Regions from separate parts of the Homo sapiens genome. Here region 1 is linked to region 2. Evidence: promoter capture Hi-C in human tissues and cell types (Jung and others, 2019). All regions are on one chromosome and are shown on one strand. Each heading gives the region's core, a stretch centred on a gene start or on the middle of the fragment in contact. The rest is flanking DNA. Distances are from core to core; before and after follow the strand shown.

Region 1 (7,040 bases), core at 2,298-4,797, 54 kb after region 2:
AAAATGAAGTGTGCTTTCCCAGAGTCCAACCCTGCCATGGAACACAGTGAATGTTGTCCTCTGGGAGAGAAGCAAGCCATTTAAATTCAGGGAACAGATTCTCAACACTGGCAAGCTATTTTTAGCTCAAGCTGTAGCTTAATTTGGAAACCAAGCAGTTGAGGTCTTGCCTTTTTCTTGGATTGACTTTTTTTTAATGGCAGTAGAAAGCTATGCATATGGAAAAGTTGTTCTCTAAATGTAGCATTTGAAGCATTCTTGAAGAATATATAATTCTAAAGCTGGTTGAAAAAAATGTTCATGCTAGAGCTTTGAAAGTCTTGTTTATCTATAGACTGTTGTTGTTTTAAAATTCATCATGTATGGTCCTGGAAAAAAAGGAAGATGCTCTTAATGGGTTTATTTAGCCACAGTTTTGGGGGATATGCCAACCTGTACAGCAACCTGATAGAACAGCAACCTCACTTTGATGTCAGGTGCCTGGCCTGGGAGGTCTGGCCAAAATAAAGATGTGGAGAGTCTCTGGGCTTCCAGAACACTGTAATGTTCATGCTCAAAAGGATCCTCCAGAGTTTTAGGGCAGTAGGACATGTATTCTATCAGCCATGATGACTTAGCTGTTACAACGACCCTGTCTATTAGGATAGTTTAATTCAAATTAAAGGTTAGTTAAAGCAAACAAATTAAAAATTAATTTCTTTAGTCATGCTAGCCTCATTTCAAGTACTCAGCCGCGTGGGGCCAGTGGGCTACCATATTGGACAGTGTAGAGCCTTTCTATTTTCATGAAAAATTCTACTGGACAGCACTACTGTATACCAATGCCAAAATAACATTAGGCAGTTTTGTGAAAAGCACCAGATGAGGTGTTAAGAGGCATAGAATTTGGTCCTATCCTAGCCTCTTTTTTTCTTTTTTTTTGACAAACACAAACATTTAAAATAGTACTATTTTAAGCACTTTATAAAGTGCTTATTAACATCATTTAATCCTCATAATAACCTTATGAGCCACTACAGTTATTTCACTTTTCTAGATAAGGAGACTGAGGTACAAAGATGTTAAGTGCTTACTGAGTCAGTAAGTGGTAGAGCTAAGATACGAACCCAGGCACTTTGCCTTCAGAGTCTTTGGTCTTAACCACTACTTAATGCTGCCTCTCTGAAAATCCACGTGATTTGGGAACATTTCTTCACCACTGTATTCATCTGTCAAATAAAGAAAGCAACCAGATTTCATCTAAGGTCCTTGCCACTGTGAATGCTCTGAAATCAATTATCTTATACAGTTGTTACTGAGTGCCTGCTCTGGGTAGGGAGTATATCAGATGCTGGATATAAATAGATGAACAAAACACACATGGTGCCCTTATAGTGAGAGAAGGAGACATTAACCAAACATATAATATGTGGAAAATGGCAATGGGGAGCCGTGTGGCAAAGGATGAGTTCTGGATACTGTAAATGTTCAGTGAGATTTGGCCCAGAGAGATCAACCACGGCTCTTTTGAGCAGGTGGAACATGGTGATGTGGCCAACACTGAGAGGAGGGGAGCTCTTGGGAGCCTCCACCGTCCCAACTGCTGCCACCCAGGGATGGTCAGCCATACCCACACACCTCCCATGGCAGTGGGTTTATCACGCATCTGTGTAGGTGGGGGGTGGGAGTCAGAGCATGGAGTTGGAGGCTGCTAGTGAGCAGGACCCCAGAGAAACAAAATTCGCCAAACTTCAGGCGTGCCCAGATTCATATCTCATGGGCAACCACTGGATGTGTCTATGTCAGAGTTAAAAAAGGCTAACATCTGTAATGGGGATCAGAAATAATTTGGGTTCCAGCCTATACATAATTCATACAAAGGGGATTGCTTCACACATGCTTATGTCAGGAATGTCAGCCTATAACAAGGCAAACGTGTGCAAAGACTCAGCTAGTGAATCCAGGCAGGAAGCTTCACATTGGAGATTTGCCTCAGGGATTCTGGCTACGGAGATTTTGTTCCAGAAAAGGGACTGATTCTCAAGTCTGTACATGAGAAATGTAAAAAAAAAAAAAAGAGCAAATAGGAAGCCCATTCTGGGGAGGCATCTTTTCCCCCCTCTGCTTTTCTGCTGTGGGCTTTCCTCAAGGCTCAGGCCTTGCTTTCTTTCTCTTTGGCAAAGTTCTTCTATGGCATGGCTTTAACTAGTTCATCACTAAATGGTGCCAATGCAGACAGGAAGCCAGCAGGGAGATATCCTAGTCAAGCCTTGAACCTGAGTACTATTAATAAGAAGAAAGATTTTCTTCTGATAGTTCACTACTGAATGAGGGCAGTGGCTCAGCAGAGGGACTGATCCTACAGAAGAATCTTAAAGCCAGGATTGCAAATTCAGTACTGACAGTGGCAAGACAAGTGATAGAAATGAGTGAGCTGGGCAGGGCGGGTCCATGGTAAACTGGGGATTTTGGATAGCTTCTACTTCTCCAACTACTTGTGGCTCAATTTGTTTTCCTATTTTTTTCTCTTTTTGTAAAAAAAAAAGAAGCCTGGGCACTGTGGCTCACACCTGTAATCCCAGCACTTTGGGAGGCCGAAGCAGGAGGATTGCTTGAGCTCAGGCATTTGAGACCAGCCTGGGCATCATAGTGAGACCCTGTCTTAAAAAAATAAAATAAAATAAAAATTAGCTGGGCGTGACAGTGCACACTTGGCGTCCAAGCTACTTGGGAGGCTGAGGTGGGAGGATCACTTGTTCCCAGGAGGTCAAAGCTGAGGTTGCAGTGAGCCATGATTGCATCACTGCACTCCAGCCTGGCTGACAGAGCGAGGCCCTGTCTCTGAAGTCAGAATTCTGTATTTGTATGTGAAATGTGGACAACCAATATTGTATGCCAAGTGGTACAAAAACACATCTGCAGGGACAGATGTGATCTTTTGCTTGCTAAGGCTTGATAGTCTTAATATATCTAAAGAAAGAGGCTGCCAGTGGGGAGGAGGGTGGCCAGAAAAAAAAAAAAAAAGAGGGAAGGGAGGGCCAAAGGGTGAATGGAGGCCAAGGGTCTATAACACTGCAAACCCAGGTGGGACAGGGCAACAGTCCGCTCCATGGAGTAGTTGCATATTGAGTTGTCTACGTGGAGACTGCGTGGGATGACCATGACTTGAGAACGTCAACCCCTAGGGCTACCACCTAACTCTCTTCACTCGGGTTTGGCGCTCAGAAGCTACTTCTGCTTATAATTTGGCTTCCCAAGATCTGCCCACAGACAGAGAATGCCAGTGTGAATATCTAGTTTATTTCGTAGTGTTATTTCACTACCTAAAATAATAAATGGGCATTCTGATTTTACAAATTAATCTCTTTGGGTTAAATTAAATGTTCTCCAGATCTCCACCACCTAAGACAAGGATGATTCAATTTCTACATGATCATCTTATCAATATCAATGAAAAAGGCAAGGTGCCGTATATGTGTGTGTGTGTGTGTGTGTGTGTGTGTGTGTGTATGTATATATATGCATAGACCTGGAATCCTCCATTTCTCCAAGGAAACTTGGTTTGTTGAGTGGGAAATGATATTTAAAGGCCACAAGCTGTGCTGTCATCACTTCTAGGACTTCTCAGTGGACAGAGCTAGGAAATACATATTTCTGGAAATTTTTTAAAAATCACAGGCTCATACTGATATTTCCAATTCAAATTTAACATTACAGGGACTATATATATATATATATATATATACACATGCTGAAAGAGAGGTTTTGATTCCCAACAATATTAACATAGTTATTGCTTTCTTCTGCAACATATAAAACAGTTTTGAAATAATACTGATATTACTATTAACAATAAGTATCTAATGCATGAATTTTACGATTTCTTTGCAGCTCTATTTGTCCTTAGAATATATTCCATTGAGCAAATATATCAAAATGCTGTGTTAATGACTTCAAGTAATTATTTTCTATGTAGTTATGTCACTAACTTGATATAGAGTTAAAAACAATAAAATATGTATTTCAATTTTTTTAAATTAGGGATTATCTTTCCTTTTTGATTGAATTTTATCTTTTGGATATGTGAAATATTAACAAGATGCTAAAACTGTATAAAGTATACTCGCAGAAGAATAACTTCCATCTGCATTTTTATTGGTTTTGGTTTATCTTTTCAGTTTCTTTTCGCAAATGTAAGCAGATAGCTATCTATTTTAACCCTATCAGCATCTTGTACAGCGCTTGCGAGGCTGAGAGATCATGGGAGCCTCATGCTGCCCCAGCTGCTGCCTCTCCAGTGAGGGGTCTGCTGTGCCCATGTGTCATCCATGGTGGTGTGTTTGCCATGGATCTGTGTGGGTGGGGGCACTGTGGATCTACAAGAAAATGTCAGCCAGCCATGGTGGCTCACACCTGTAATCCCAGCACTTTAGGAGGCTGAGGCAGGCAAATTGCTTGAGGCCAGCAGTTCGAGACCAGCCTGGACAACATAATGAGAAACTGTCTCTATTTTTAAAAAGTTAATAAAAAATAAAATGTCCATATTTGTCATTTCCATTTGGATACTTTCAGTTAAAATTCATGATGTATAAAGACAAAGCATCAGTCTTCTCCTTGAACTAACTCTGCCTCCAAACTTCCGTTTCTGTTCTCAGTGCTTCAACTCTCCCAACCTCTCAGTATCAAAATTGGTCAACTTAGACTTCTCCATTTTGTTTAGTCCTCACAGTCTATCAATCACCAGAACATGTGGTTATTCATTCAGTTAACATCAACGTTTTTTGTGCATTAACTATGTGCCAATCATATGATGAACAAGACATGATCTGTGATTCCAAGGAACAAACATTGCAGTGGAGAAGACGCGAGAATAATTAAATGATACCAAGATTGTACAAAGTGCTGTTGAAGTAAACACGAGATGGCTTGGGAGAACAAAGGGAGTAGAGAAAACCCTCATCAAGGGGGACTTCACCGAGGAGGTAATGTCTGAGCTGAGTTTGGGGATGGGGAGAGTGGGAATAAGATTTAATCACAAGAACAACAGGATGAAGATGGGAGAAGAGCACTCCAGGCAGAGGGAGCTGGAGGCAAATGAGAGCAGGATGTGTTCCAACAACTACGGATTTTTCAATATGCCTGGAGTGTCACAGTTTGGCAGATAAAGAGACAGAGACCTGATGACAATGAATTTTGTCTACTCACCATGCTATGCTACAAGCCTTTCTTTTCTTTTCTCCTTCCTTCCTTCCTTCCTCCTTCTTCCCTTCCTTCCTTCCTTCCTTCCTACCTTCCTGTCTTTTTCTTTCTCCCTTTCAGTGAACCCTCTGGGAACACTTCAAAGGATTTATTAATAAAACTGTGTGATAATATCATCGGAATCTCATTTTGAAAAGATCAGCCTGGACATTGGTCAAAGAATGGAAGAGCTGAAGGAAGAAAAAAGCAGAGGCAAGACTAGTGCAATAATTTAGGGGAGCAATGAGGAAAGTCTAAACTAGGGTAGTGGCAGAAAGGATAAAGGGAAGAAAACTTATTTACGATGCATGAAGGAAACAGAACTAATAAGACTTGGCAGATGGATGGCGACTCTACAGTACTCTCAGATTTCTAGTTTTAGTTTGGTCCGCTGGGTGGGTGTTGGTACTATTTCCTCAGAATGGGAACACAGAAGGAGAAGCAACAGGTTGGAGGCTGAGGAGCTATGAGGAGGGAATCAGGTGGAGTTACACTACAGAGAAGCATTCATTCAACAAATATCTGTTCAGCATCATTAACTACAAGGTGCTATGTTCTTTAGGGAGTGAGCAACAGATTGTAAGATAAGGGGAAGGAAATCCAAGAGCTTATTTAAATAGAGAATTACAGAGGGTAATATAGAAAAAAATGAGAGAGAGAATAACAAAGGAATGAGTATTAATGAGGATGAGAGTATGGAACTAGGATTTGAGAAGCATGAAGAAAGTAACTGACTTCAATAATCTAAACAGTTTGTTGACTGAAAATTGCTTCAGTGTGAATGAATTCTGAAGCCCCAGAGAGTTTCAGGGGCTAGTGAACTAAGTTCGTTCAAGTTTTCTTTTATAAAGCCTCTTGTGCCATCCTTTCTTTTTCATTGTCATTGCTATCACCAAAACTTGTTTTCTTCCTGTTCCTTTAATTTATGTGTATTTCTCCTCCCTTTTGTTTGTATTTTTTATTTTAAAATATTTTTTCCCTCTCTGTATCAGATAAGCAAAAGAACACATTTTAAACATCACTCACAATCCCATCACTCAAAGATAAATACTGCTAGTGTTTTAGAGTAATTTTCCTTTTTTTCCTTTCTTTTCTTTTTTTGGAGACAGGGTCTCACTTCATCGCCCAGGCTGGAGTGCAGTGGCACAATCTCAGCTCATTGCAGCCTCCACTTCTTGGGCTCAGGTGATCCTCCCACCTCAGCCTCCCAAGTAGCAGGGACTACAGGCATGTACCACCATGCCTGGCTAATTTTTTTATATTGACACAGGGTTTTACCATGTTACCCAGGCTGGTTTCAAATGCCTAAGCTCAAGCGATCCTCCTGCCTCGGCCTCCCAAAGTGCTGAGATTAAAGGCGTGAGCCACCGCGCCCGGCAGCTTGTGATATTTCTATACTGCTATTCAACTTTTTAATAAACCTGTATCTTAATTTTGCCAAATATTGCTTATGTAAATCAGCTTAGGTTAGCTGTGCAGCAGTAACAAACACCCTCGAAATCTCAGTGGCTTACAAACACAGCAACAACAAAGACTTATTTCTCACTCATATTTCATGTTGGCTGTAGGTTAGCTGTGGATCAGCTTCATGTGCTCTTCACTTTGGGACGTAGTTTGAAGGATCAGCCTCTGTCTGGGACATGCTATTCTTTTAGTAGGGAGAAAAGAGCAATGATGAAGTCATATGATGACTCTTAAAGCTTTTGCTGGAACGTGTCGTCCAGCACTCCACTCATTATATAGACACATACTACTGAAGCAAATAACAGAATCAAGTTGTCATGTCAGTGGGTAAATAAGTATAATTCTTTCACATGGAGAGA
Region 2 (6,928 bases), core at 1,235-3,734:
TTTTTAGGATAGAGTCTCGCTCTGTCACCCAGGCTGGAGTGCAGTTCCAGGTTCGAGCGATTCTTGTGCCTCGGCCTCCCCAGCAGCTGGGACTCCAGGCATGCACCACCACGCCTGGCTAATTTTTGTATTTTTAGTAGAGACAGGGTTTTGTCATGTTGGCCAAGCTGGTCTTGAACTCCTGGCCTCAAGTGATCCGCCCGCCTCGGCCTCCCAAGGTGTTGGGATTACACCGCACCCGGCCCCTTCTACATATTGTTATCAATGAACATCTCTCATTGAATTACAGTTACCATTTCTGATCAATATAAGATGCTATCAACTACATGATGCACCACTATTTCCTGCATCACTAACAAAATAATATGGCAATTAAACTCTGCCACGCCAGCACTGTTAAGACATATTCTGACTGGGGGCAGTGGCTCAAACCTGTAATCCTAGCACTTTGGGAGGCTGAGGTGGGAAGACCGCCTGAGCTCAGGAGTTCAAGACCCATCTCTATTAAAAAAAAAAAAAAAAAAGACATATTCCAACTTCAGCTGTTTAAATGTGGGAAAAAATGTACAACGAAGAATCAGTGAAATACGGTGTCTATTTACCTAACAGACTCATCTACAAGACTGAGCTTCTTGATGACAAGAGCCTATACCTGCCACATAGCAAGTACTCAAAAAACATTTTTGTGAAATAGAAAAAATCCAACATATCAGCTCATTTTCCTGTCCTAATTAGTTTAGTAAACTGGATATGGTGGAATTTTAATTTAAGACTCTAAATTCTCAGAATTTTACATCTGTTCCTTTTCCAGGATGGGAGATACATCTAATTCCTGTACCCTGCTTCATTAAAAATCAAGCCCCATGAACCCAAAGTAGGAGAGTGGCCATGGGAGGCAGGAGGCTTAATAGAACCACAGAGTTCTGGATGTTTAAAACCTAGGATGCAATTTCTAGTCTATAAAAATCCTCAAGAATTGAACCTCTACTCTACTAAAAAGGCTTTTGTCTTTTTTGAGGATTTTAATGTTTTTCTCCTTCCAAGTTTAGGGGTGATGTGATTTTCTTGGGGAACATGAAGGAAAAATCTTATTTTTGTTGTTTCCTACCTGTAAAATGACATCCTTTATAGAAACAGCATCACTACTAGACACAGTAACAACAGCAATAGTCTGGATTTGTTTTCTGGGTCTCTAACTCATCAAACACAACCCAACACATGAATTATATGTATCAGTGTTTCGATTAACCTGCAGATCTTGCAAAAATGGAGGCTCTAAATCAGTAGATTCTGAATGACGCGTGAGATCCTGCATTTCTAACAGGCTTGCAGGTGATGCTGACACTGCTGGTCCATGGGCCAGACTTTAAGTGGCAAATGCAGCATTATTTCATTTAACCTTCATGCCCACCCCCATCGGCTAGGAATTATTCCATAAATGAGGCCTGAAGTTGGAAAGTTACATAAACTGCCCAAGACCAAAGCGCTTAATAAAGAGTGAGGTGGATATTTCAACCCAGGTCTGTAACCCCCGGCACCTGGTAATCTTCCTACCACACCACAGTCTAATCAAAGAAAGTGAAAAAATAACACGCCTAGGACCCCCAGCAAACTTTCTGGGCATCCTTAAATTACACGTGCTCCTGAATTGATCTCAAACAGACCCGCCCACGAGTCACTCTGGAGACTCCGCAGCCAAAAAACAGGCAAGAGTTACTGAAAGGTGAGGCAGCTCGCGCATGGGGCGCAGACGGGGAGGAGGCAGTACCCTAAGTGGCCGCCGCTTCCCTAGTCAGTTCTACGGCTTGAGGCTCGCTTTGCCACCTATGGGACACTCTGGGAACCCTCCGTCCACGCTTGCAAACCGCCGGGACCTTCCAAGTTTAGGCGGGCGCACACGCGTCCCGACACAGCTGAGTCCAGGAGGCACTCGGGGAGATGCGACCCTGGGGCGGTCACCCAAGCCGGGGCCCGGCGGCCGGCTAGACTGAGCCTCCCGCCCAGCCCCGAGGCTCCCTAGAGAACCGAGCGCGCACCCCAAAACCCTGCTCCTCCGGGGACAGAGGCAGGAAGAGGCCACAGAGAGCCGCCACTTCAGGGAGCCCGAGGAGCACGGCGAGCCGGGTGGGCTCCGGGGGCGGGCAGAGCGTGGGGCGGGGACGGGGCGGGGAGGCCGGGGTCCCGAGAGGGGGAGACCGGAAGGGAACGCCGGGGAGGGGAGGGCTGGGAGCGGCGGTTACAAACCCCACACGCCGAAAAGGCGCGCTCTCTCGTCCGGCCGCACTCACTCACCTCCCCCGTACACGCCGCCGCTCATGGCTGCTGCCGGCGCGACTCCTACCCTAAGGGCTAACTGGCGAAGTGACTGCAGTGGCCGCGACTGCGAGTCTCGAGGAGCGATAGCCCCTGACTCCCTTAACTTCCACCGCCACCCACCTCAGGCAACAAAGCGGCGTCCACACACCCCGGAGCTCAGCCACACTTGCTGGCTCCTCCTATCAGCCAATCACTAGGGTCCAGGCCTAAGTCTAGCCAATCAGAATGCGGCTGCGCCGCATCCCCGCCGCGGCCCAGCAGGTTTAGCCAATCGAAGGCAGCCATGGGGGCGGGAAAGAGGAAAGCGACAGCAGGACAGAAGGAGTTGGGTTGCGGAGCTGGAGGGGGCGGAGCTTCCCGGGTGGGCGAGGGAATGGGCGGAGGCAGTGGGAGAAGAAGGAGGAAGGCTGGAAGAAGCATGGGGGCGGGACTAGGAGGTGCGTCTGGGCGCTGAGGAGCGGCGGGAACCCGGGTAGGGGAAGGTAGACCCCTGGAAATTGAACGGGTGTCTCCACGCCGAGATTCCTGTCCAGTGACTGTGGGGAATGCGGATTTCTTTCTTTTTTTCTTCAGAAAAAGTATTTTAAACTAACTTTTATGTTGAAAAAGTAAAAATTTTGCGCTCCACTTTGGGATAGGGGAATCAGTAAATCAGACAAATTGATAGGATCTTGCAGTTTTTAAAATGGTTATTAATAAGTAAAAGAAGAATGAAATTATGCGGTATCCCAGCTAAACCTAGGTAGCGCTTTAAAAACTATTAAAAAACTTACTCATTTCTTTAAAAAAAAAAAAAAATTTCAGGCCGGGCGTGGTGGCTCATGCGTGTAATCCGAGCACTTTGGTAGGCCGAGGCGGGCAGATCACAAGGTCAGGAGTTCGAGACCAGCCTAGGCAACACAGTGAAACCCTGTGTCTACTAAAAATGAGAAAAGTAGCCGGGCCTGTAGTCCCAGCTACGCAGGAGGCTGAGGCAGGAGAGTCGCTTGAACCCGGGAGGCAGAGGTTGCAGTGAGCCGAGATTGCGCCACTGCACTCCAGCCTGGGCGACAGAGCAAGACTCTGTCTCAAAAAAAAAAAAAATCAATTTCTTTTATCCTGTGAGAGGTATTTAAAACAGCTAATCAATCTTCATTCAAGCAAGCACCCAATCCTAAATAGGCATCCCAAAAACAGCCTTAGTCCCCTATTTCTACCAGCCTAGTCCAGATCACCTTCCTTTATCCCCAGATTACTGCAACAACTTGTTGCTGTGTCCCTTTGCCACTCTTGATCAAGGGAGCTTCATCTGTGAAAACGCCCAAACCCGATCAGGACACTCCAGCGCTCAAACCCTTAAGATTGCTGCCTATCCTTGTAATTGATCCTTGTCTAGAGTCTAGACATGCAGTGCCTACTTTTAACCTTAGAAACGATTGACTAAAACCCCATCAGTCTCAGTGGCAGAGGGTGGCAGAAAGTGATGAGGCAGTAGGGTGGGAAAAAAGGCTAGCGGGAAAACTCTTTCCCATTCACTTGACAATATAATCACAGTGTATCTGACCATTTAGAAAAGCCCTATTAACCCAGTGAGATAATGCAGATGTGTGTCAGCACACTATGGCACTAGGGCCAAATCCAGTCTTTTGTGTGTGGGGTGGGGAGGGGAGGTGGGGAAAAGGGGAAGCAGGTGGGAAGACTGCCTTTTTTTTTTTTTTTTTTTGGCCTTGAGCTAAGAATGATTATTTCTGTTTTTAAATTATTATTTAAAATATTTTAAAGAATAATATGTGACAGGTTGGGCATGGTGGCTCACAGCTGTAATCCTAGCACTTTGGGAGGTCCAAGCAGGAGGATCGCTTGAGGCCAGGAGTTCAAGACCAGCCTGGGCAACACAGGGAGACCCCCGTCTCTACAAAAAATTTTAAAATTATCTGGGTATGGTGGTGCATGCCCCCTAGCTACTCTGGAGGCTAGGGTGAGAGGATTGCTTGAGCCTGGGAGTTCAAAGCTTCAGTGAGTCGTGATCTCCCCACTGCACTCCAGCCTGGGTGACAAAGCAAGTCCCTGAAAAAAAAAAAAAAAAAGAAAAAAAGAAAACAAAAGAAAGAAGGAGAGAGATGTGAAAACTATGTGAAATTCACACTTCAGTGACCTTAAACTAAGTTTTATTAGGACACAGCCCACACTTACTCATTTATGACTATTTTGCTCTGTAAGGGTAGAGTTGAGTAGTTGGGAGACAGAGACTATGTGTCCCACTCAGCTGGAGAATACATTTATTACTGGACCCTTTACAAGAAGAGTTTGCAGACCTGAGCTAACACATGTAATATAACCAGCATAGCGTGCATAAGTACCCTATGTTAACTGTTGTCCCCATTATTATAGCTGTCACTGTAGCTGCATATCAAATCCCCAAAATATTTCTTCTTCCAATCTATGTTTTTATGATGTCTTTGACTAGTAGCTGAAGAGTATAAAATATTGAGATGTTTTCTAATAATTAAATATTGAAGAGATGCTATTTGTGAGTTTATAATACACAGTTATCCATTTAAATCAATGTAGCATTTAAATGCCAAATAATTTATATACAGCAAATTAACTAGATTTTGATATCGCTGAACATTGATATCTCTCTTCAATACTATCTCCAACATCTCTCATGTTTGAAGATAATATATCCTAGAAGTAAAATACCTATCTAGTCTAAAAGAGAGTAAAATATTTGTTCCACTTGTTCAGCATTTATCTTAAAACAAAACAGTTCAAGAGGGTTGATGATGAGGACCACGCCCTCTAGCCTCTGGAAAGCCTGAGATGGGACTGTCTCCTCCCCAGATTTAAAACTGTCCTGCACCGTGTGCAGAGTAACCAAACTGTGCAGGAGAATTGTAAATCTGACAGCACAAAGAAGATGGAAGTGACACTCAGATGATTTTGCTTAAAGTCAGGTTTTGCTCCATTTGATAATTTGGAAAAATACTAGAAAACAGATCATTTGTTTGTTCATTCATTTGTAATATCAGGTTGGCTTGGAATCTCTTGATGTCCCATTGGAACCACGGCTTCATTTAATAATAAGCCATTGAAATGAATTTCAAAGGAAATAAACTTCACATTACATCTGATGTTTCAGGACAAATCACATGTTGACACAGATAAAAGTGCACACTTGTGAATCCTTTGATAAATTTTAATCAATAAAAAATGTAATAGGACACTAAGACTATTGGCCCTGAAATATTGAATTGCTGGAGCATGAGATTGTTCAGAAAGAAAACCTATTCAGCCTTCTAAAAGAACTATGTCGGTGGATGGGCATCCTCCATATTAATGACGTTATTTCCTTTGACTTAACAGTATGGCTGTTTTCTATTCTTTTTTTTTTTTTTTTTTTTTTTTTTTTTGTAAAACAGAGTCTCGCTCTATAGCCCAGGCTGGAGTGCAGTGGCATGGTCTTGGCTCACTGCAACCTCCATCTCCCAGGTTGAAGTGATTCTCCTGCCTCAGCCTCCCCAGTAGTTGGGACTACAGGCATGTGCCACCATGCCCAGCTAATTTTTGTATTTTTAGTAGAGAAGGAGTTTCACCATGTTGGCCAGGCTGGTCTTGAACTCCTGGCCTCAAGAGATCCACCTGCCTCGGCCTCCCAATCTTCAATTCTTAGGAAAACTAGTTGAAAGTACATTAAAACAAAAGTACTAACCCAGCAAAATCTGCTTTATGAAATATAAAATATATGAGGGTTGGGGTTTTTTGAGTAGTGATATTTCTCCCCTGTTGTCTAACATGTTTTCTCTAAAGTCTTGGCTCAGCCTATATTAATGTTGTCAATAACTAGTCAGATTAAACTGCAACAACTCAAGGTTATTGTCTGTTATTTCAGTTCTCAAAGGCACAGCATATCAAAACTATCAATGCTTGCAATTTTCCCCCTGAACCAATATATCAGGTATGTCAACCTAAAAACAAAAGATGTTGAAGTAACAGGTATATAAATTTATCTAGCCCAGAGTAGGTGCTCAGTGGTTGATTCCGAATCCAGTTTACAAAAATAAAGAGGCTTTCAAAAATCATTTGTAATATCCAAGCATCAAGAATTTCTTCTGTGGCCCCAGGTGCAACAATTGGCTTTGCCACATTGGGTCGCTGGTCGTCCATTCTTGTAATGATCCACCAGGACTTGTGATGCTGGATCCTCTCTACTTTCTTCACCAGCCCTGTCAGCACTCAGGTTATGGAATTTCAGCAGTCATTACAAAATGTTACATATCTTATCCTCTGTCTCAGCTTTTATTAAGTTCAGCATTGAAAAAAAAATGCAACTGCTGTTTATGCAAGCTAGGAAACAAATTCAGAAAATTATCATCCGTCAGGAAGAAATGACACAAAAATTTATGTACATTTAGAATTATTTTGTTTCATGCTGCAAAATATATAAAGTTGGCAGTAGTAAAAAGCAATTTTCAAAATAGACATTTTTGTGTGTATGAGGAGTCATTGTAAGCACCATCCTTTGCGTACTGAAGTTCCAAATGTATAACACTCATCCAAGCACTACTGAGATAAAAGATAAATACCTGGTATCATATATAGGGTTTTTCAACAATAGAAATATGATTGGTAA

Evidence for each region. The method cuts DNA at HindIII sites, captures the fragments that hold promoters and counts their contacts. A contact is called where the count stands out against the background at its distance.
Region 1: a fragment that was not itself captured here is called in contact with the fragment with the promoter of ACTL6A in region 2 in 1 of the 25 tissues and cell types used here (heart right ventricle).

Annotation. Positions count from the first base shown.
Region 1 is chr3:179,505,617-179,512,656 of GRCh38, reverse strand. It overlaps a transcript of GNB4 not described here. Among named protein-coding and RNA genes, the nearest start is that of ACTL6A, 54 kb to the left of the region's middle. The HindIII fragment of the contact is 7,171 bases long and covers 1-7,040 here.
Region 2 is chr3:179,558,482-179,565,409 of GRCh38, reverse strand. It overlaps ACTL6A (actin like 6A), which reads right to left and starts at 2,484. Exons shown (of 14, transcript NM_004301.5): 1 at 2,293-2,484. The coding sequence starts at 2,317. RefSeq lists silencers at 2,393-2,622, 6,315-6,609. The HindIII fragment of the contact is 12,889 bases long and covers 1-6,928 here.